2 separate regions of the Homo sapiens genome follow, and region 1 is linked to region 2. The links are contacts of gene promoters, found by promoter capture Hi-C in human tissues and cell types (Jung and others, 2019). All regions are on one chromosome and are shown on one strand. The core of a region is centred on a gene start or on the middle of the fragment in contact, and the rest is flanking DNA. Distances in the headings are between cores, read along the strand shown.

Region 1 (3,370 bases), core at 333-2,832, 720 kb before region 2:
AACATAATATTTATTTTTTTTCCTTTCAGACAAGATCAGTTGTGTTCAGGGTGGTATGGCCATAGATGGTTTCTTCTTTTCAATTCAGACTAATAATCTTAATTTTTAAATTGAAGCATTCAGTCTATTTGTATTTAATGCAACTCCTGACATATTTCAATGTATTTACTTTTTTCTTAATTAACCAGGCCAGTTTTGTGTTCTTTTTTGCTGTTTGGTATTTATATTATTTTGATTTTATAAATGAGCAATCCTTGACTTTGAGAGGTAATACAAATTAACTAAGTTCGTATCCTGGTAAATAGCAGAGTTCCTGAGGAAAGAAAACAGAAAACTGGCCAACAGGACAGTGTGGTAGAGGAGAAAGAGCTCTGGGATTAGAATCCAAAATACCAGCTCCCCACTGAACTGCTGTGTGACTTTCTCCAGTCTACTTCCTTTTCTGAAAGTTAAGAGTGATGATACATATCCTACCAACCACTCTGAGTGGTTCAGTTCACATGAGAAGTGAAAGTGCTTTGTGAATTGGTTTTCCACAGGACTGGGCCCTGTTTGAGGGGTGGAAACAGGAGGTTGGTAGAGAGACCTGCCCAAGGTGACTGAAGAAAGGATGGGGAGTCATCACGTGAGGACAGGGATTTGAGGGCAGGCAGCTCCCGCACAGCAGGCGGGCTCCAGAGGCAACTCATGGAGTGTTGCACTTCTTTGTTTATTTATTTTTTCCTTATTGCTATTAATCTAAAATTGTTCACGTTTCTCTTTCAGAACACTTTTAGATTGGAAAGATTTTGATCATCTCAAAAGTCTTGGATATAAAAATTCAGTCTGTGTGGCAGGGAACAGCTCACTCCTGACTGGTTGAAGATAGGAGGTTGAAGAAATAAATGAACTTGAAGCAGACTTGAAGTTTCATGCCTGAGATCCTAAAGTAAGATAATGTTTGTAAGGCTGATTGCTAATCAAGATGCCTTATTTCTCAGATTTTTTTAATCTGAATTATTCCTTCCTCAACCAACATCCCGATTTAGGAGCTGTTATAAGTCATCACTCAAGATAAGGATTTAAAAGGACTGGATTGCAAATGCAGCCAGCAAAGCTTAGAAGCCTAAAGGGGTGGGAAAATGAACTCCCCAATATGGGAAATAAATGGCAGTTCTGATGATTGGCAAAGCGGTCTGGCTTCTTCCAGAAATATTTATAAAGGCATAAATTAATGGCATTCCAGTTTCTCAAGGAGAATGAAAATAAAAATCCCCAAACATTCTAATTTCTCTAAGAGAATATAAACATAAAAGCAAGAGGGTCCTAACAGTGTCGCTCGTATCCACAGTGCTTCTGTGCAGAACCGTCTTCTCTGCACAGTTTCCTGCAGCCATCATGGCAAAAAATAGAATGATGGGAAAGATATTCCCTTCCAAATCAGGAGATTCCATGCTATGGGTTTCTTAACAACCTTCTCAGGTTAAGAACTTCAACAGAAATTGTAAGTTGAATAGATGATCTGGCGAGGAGGGGGATAGAGAGTCACTTGCAATGTCATTTCAATAATTAACAATCCGTTTATATACAAATAACTCCCAAATGTTGAGAAAGTGGGAAAGTACTTTCACCACCATTTTATAGATAACTCAGTTTTATATAAAAAGCTAAGCATAAACATATTCTAAATGAACTGAAAAAGTCCTGAATAAAAACACGTTCTACATGAAGTGAAAGAATTCTCATTCTCACCTTATACAAAGCATTTAAATGAATTTCTTTGGAACAATTCCGTTTGATAAGTTTCTAATATGTAAGGTTACTTATTTTCTCCTGAGAACAAATACAAGATTTCTGGGTCAGAGACACGCTGATTGTTTACTTATAGGATATCTTGGTGTTGGTTTTCCAGTCCCCCGTTTCCCCTTTGGGTGATTCTATGGGAGCAGATGTCACCCTGGATGTACAGAGGTGTAGAAGGAGAATACAATATGGAAGAACTCCCAAATTGTGAATGCAAGTGCTTATATAGGAACTGCTGGTTCCTATACAACCTATTCAAATGTTGGTTCAGGTGCTCCCTCCTTTTTAGGGGGAAGGAGGGAAACCTTATGTTTTTAATGCAAAGAAATCCTCTGTTGGAAAAAAAGCAAAAGGTCCTAGATGTTATAGCTCTTTAAAATATAAATGTTAGGCTCAGGAATTTATTACCATTTGAACTGTAAATAAAGAAACCCAGAGGCAAATAAACCTGTAAATCTCTCAGGAGTAATTCACTGTCTCCAACTTCCAAGGCGTGGCTGTTGATCAACTTGTTGTTAACCCAAGTTGCTGGTAGTTTTTGCTCAGGAAGCCATGACTCTGCGGAACACAAAAAATACTGGTTATTTCTTAACACCATAAAATGTATTTTGGTAGCATTGTATTTCCCATGCATGGACAAGTAATTATTTTATCTGGAGGCTGCACAGCATAAGAGTGTAGAAGATAATGGTGAAAAGTAACTGGATTATGAAAAGTCCTGAATGCTAAAAAGTTTGGACAATATATGTGTAGACAATGGGTAATCAATGAATATCTCTGACCTCCTAAATTTAGAGGAGGAGTGTTATCAGATACAGAAGGAACAAACTACGTGACCACATCAGCACAGAATAAGAGACTTTCAAAAAAGTGAGGGTCAGAGTCCGTAGGAGTAAAAAAGTAGGAGAATAGGAGGAATGGGAATGGCAAGAGATTCAACAGTGTCAAACCCTTCATTTTTGAGGAAAACAAGAGGGCTGAAGCCCAAGAGAAGGCCCTTAGGAATTCACTTTAGATGAACTCTGTATTCTCTCTCTCTTTTTTTTTTTCTTTTTTTATGAGACAGAGTCTCGCGCCATCTCTCAGGCTGGAGTGCAGTGGCTCCATCTCGGCTCACTGCAACCTCTGCCTTCCAGGTTCAAGTGATTCTCCTGCCTCAGCCTCTGGAGTTGCTGGGACTACAGGCCCCCGCTATCACGCCTGGCTAATTTTTGTATTTTTAGTAGAGACAGGGTTTCGCCATGTTGGCCAGGCTGGTCTCGAACGCCTGGCCTCAGGTGATCCACCCGCCTCGGCCTCCTAAAGTGCTGGGATTACAGGTGTGAGCCACCATGCCCAACCGAACTCTTTATTCTTAGTAAAAGTTCTGAATGACGTCATCTGCTGCTGAGTGTGTATGGGGCATAGAGAAAGGTAGCAAAGGGGCACGATGAGGAAAGAAAGTATTTATTCACAGAAGAAAAATTTTAATTTTTTCATCATGTTTTCCTTAAAGTTTTCTAAGTGTTGCCATTTATCTCAAGTTTGTCATATTCTTGAAACCGTGGAGCCCTACGTGAAGGCCTAGCAAAAGCTGAAAGCAGGCAGT
Region 2 (3,315 bases), core at 342-2,841:
CTATACTTAGCACATTGTAGCACAAAGAATCTCCTTAATATATTTTTATTAAGTTAATAGGTGAATAGGAAAGGCTGTAGTGTGTTATACGGGGAAATAGACTCAGGTGTGTCTAGATATTAAAGTCGGTATATTAAGGTTACCAAGCGTGAAAGATTTTGATGGAAGAATGAAAACATCCATGTCCAGGACTTCCAGTTTCATTTCTCAGTCACTAATTTCAAGTCACCAAATAAACAAAGTGAAAATGGGTGAAACGTACTTTGAGTTACAATAAGTTTATCTTAATTCATTGACTTTTCAACTGCTCAGATGTCTTAAAATTTTTTAAAAAGTAAGTTGTTATAGTAAAGAGCCACACAAATACTCATAGCAGAGGAACAATTTCTGGATTATGTCGGTGAGCTTTTTAAGGGTTTGGGGAGGATGAGAATAAAAGGGTGACTTTTTATTTTCAGTTTTTCTATCTGGATGTGTCAAATTCCTGATAACTTCTAACACTCAGCAATGGAAATTTAGAAGGTGCCTGAAAGAACAAATAGAATTTTCAGACCTGGAGAAATTCTAGTAATCATCACTCTGGGACATATTATTAAAATTAGTATTTTAAAAAAGAAAACAATCTTTCAGAAAGACAGGAAGTTTAGGAGCCAAAGCCAGAGGCCCTAATACAAATCGCCCCCACCTCCCCATCCCCCCATCCCCACCTTCTTCCCCGCCCTGTTCAAACACGCCCACAGCCCAGGAAATAATGAGACCCAAGTGATCCAGCTAGATAGAAAAAGTAGTTTGCTTGGCATCTCCCAAATTATCTTGAGCAAACAATAAAATAAGAAATGTTTCAGAAGACAATTCGGCTCCCAGGCCCAAACCAAAACTCGAACCTGGTACTTTTTGTAAGTGCGGGCCAAGAAAGGGGCTGTAAAGTTAAAGAGCCGGTGGCGCCTCTGAACACACCCGGGCAGGGCGAGCAGGATGTCCTTGTCCAGGGAGACCCCTTCTCCTGGCTTTGAGGAAGGTGCTCCCTATCCCCGCGGGTTCCTCCGCCAAGCGGGACGCCGCGCCGGGCGGGTGAGAGAAAGCCCGGGCAGGAGAGCACAGAGCCGGCGACTGGACGCGAGCGCGGGGCGGGTGGAGAGCGTCTCTCCGGGCGCCGCTGCTGTTGTCCCGGGTGCTGAAAAGCCGGGAACTTCCCGGGAAGCAGCGGCACTTTTCTCCCTGGAAGGTGGGTGTGGGGGTTCCAGACTGCGCACCTGCTAAACCCTCCTGGGTCCCCCGGGAGGGGTCCGCCAGATGTGCCCCTTCCCAGCCCCATTCGGGGGAGAAGGATGGGGGCGGGGGCGTGGGGGTGAGCACAGCCGGACACCGCAAGTGGGAACCTGGGGTGTCCTTCCCCGCAGCTCCCGGGCAGCCGCGCGCCGCGAACCCCGGTCCACCTGCAAGCAAGGCGGGCCGGGGGCAGAGGGCGCCGGGCTGTGCGGGGGAACCGGCCCGCGTCCCGGGATTGGGGGGCGGTGGAAGAGAGAGCGAGCGGGCATGCGCAGTGGGGCGGAGGAGGTGGCGATGGCCGGGGGAGGCGGGGGGACTGCTGTTTATTTGCAGCTGGGCCAACTCCGCGGCGCAGGCGGCGGCGGAGCGCGGGGAGCTCGCGGCGGGTCCAGCTGCCGCAGCACCATGCCCGAGCCCCCCTCCGGGCAGACGCCGCGCGCCGCCGGGGCCCCGGTAGGGGAGGATGCCAGACGCCCGGGAGAGGCCAGGGCAGCAGCGGCGGCGGCGGCGCGATGGTGGTGACCACCTCTGCCCGAGGCGGCGGCGGGGACCGCACACCCTCCCGGCGGCGGGGCTGCGGGCTAGCGCCGGCCGGGGCCGCGGCGCTGCTGGCCGGGGCAAGCTGCCTGTGCTACGGCCGCTCCCTGCAGGGCGAGTTCGTGCACGACGACGTGTGGGCGATCGTGAACAACCCCGACGTGCGGCCCGGCGCCCCGCTCCGCTGGGGCATCTTCACCAACGACTTCTGGGGCAAGGGCATGGCCGAGAACACCAGCCACAAGTCCTACCGGCCGCTCTGCGTCCTCACCTTCAAGTGAGTCCCTCACCTCGCGCTAGCCGCCGCTGCCTCCTCTACCCTCCGCCCGTCCCTCGGACCGGGAGAAGTTGCGGGACTGACTTGGGGGCATTTCATTTTTGCCGCCCTTTCCCTCCACGCCTCCCTCCTCTCCAGGATGTGCATGGCACTTTGCTCCGGGATCCACTGCCCGGCTAATCTGGGCTCTCGGGGCGGTTCGGGAGGCGCCGGCTGGGGAGTTGGGATCGAGTTTCTCAACTGTCTGCCCTCTCAGCGGGCTTCTCTCTCGAGGCAGGGCTGGGAGCGGGCTGGTGAAACCGCCTCCGCACCCCTTCGCCTGCCGGATCGTGACCAAGTGGGACTAGCGCGGACCCAGAGGGTTCCGGAGGGGTGGCGGTGGTGGCGATGCTTCCAAGTAGAGAATTTCTCGGAGGCTGTTGGGCAGCTTTGCAGATGAGAAGTGTATCAGCCCCTTAAGGGTTTCGTTCAGATGAGACGAGGCGGGAGCCTTGAGCTGACAGGGCTGCGTGGGTTCAGGAGAGGGAGCAGAAAACTCTCCCGAGCCCCCCAGCCCCCGCCTTGCACCCTTGGCTGCTCCCAGAGGCTCTCCAATCTGCCAGACTTCTCTGGATCTAGACTTTAGAAGGTGCAGAGAGAGGTAACGCAGAGCCTAGGCTTCTCCAGGGACCCTGGGGCCCCAGCCGAAATAGTTTTTCTTTTACAACCTCGGAGTCATGATTCAGCGTTTCTGGTGTGAATAAGCGTAAAGGGAACCGAGAATATGCCAGGTTTTTGAGGGGTGGAGTATTTTCTTTAATTTGAAAAGAAGCCTAGCTTCTGAGGAAAGAAGAGAAGTGCTCATTTAAGGGAAATGCTATCTTACACAATCAGGAGCTTGACTCAACCCTTTATAATGTGGCTCAGCATTGAAGTTCATTTTAACGCGCCGGTCAAAACTGTTGAAATAATATTGGTGCGCTATTATCGGCGTTTTAAGCCTTTTTGCAACGGGTGTAATAGGAACCCGTGTTTATGGTAATGATTATTTGAGACTGGGTTGGCAGCTTGAAAAGCCTGCTCTGGATGAGAGGCTGAGGCCTCTTGACAGGTGTCTCTGATGACTCAGAAAAGGAAACCATAGCAATCGGCAACAATTCATGGGCTTTTGACTTACGTCTTCCACTGAAAGTTTAATGTTTTTAAGGAGAGTGAGAAAATTACATATTTGACTTTGAAGAGAATGTGTTATA

What was found. The method cuts DNA at HindIII sites, captures the fragments that hold promoters and counts their contacts. A contact is called where the count stands out against the background at its distance.
Region 1: a fragment that was not itself captured here is called in contact with the fragment with the promoter of TMTC1 in region 2 in 1 of the 25 tissues and cell types used here (dorsolateral prefrontal cortex).

The regions. Positions count from the first base shown.
Region 1 is chr12:30,500,796-30,504,165 of GRCh38, reverse strand. It overlaps the pseudogene LOC100422352. Among named protein-coding and RNA genes, the nearest start is that of IPO8, 190 kb to the left of the region's middle. The HindIII fragment of the contact is 6,385 bases long and covers 1-3,370 here.
Region 2 is chr12:29,782,218-29,785,532 of GRCh38, reverse strand. It overlaps TMTC1 (transmembrane O-mannosyltransferase targeting cadherins 1), which reads left to right and starts at 1,591. Exons shown (of 18, transcript NM_001193451.2): 1 at 1,591-2,083. The coding sequence starts at 1,782. The HindIII fragment of the contact is 32,748 bases long and covers 1-3,315 here.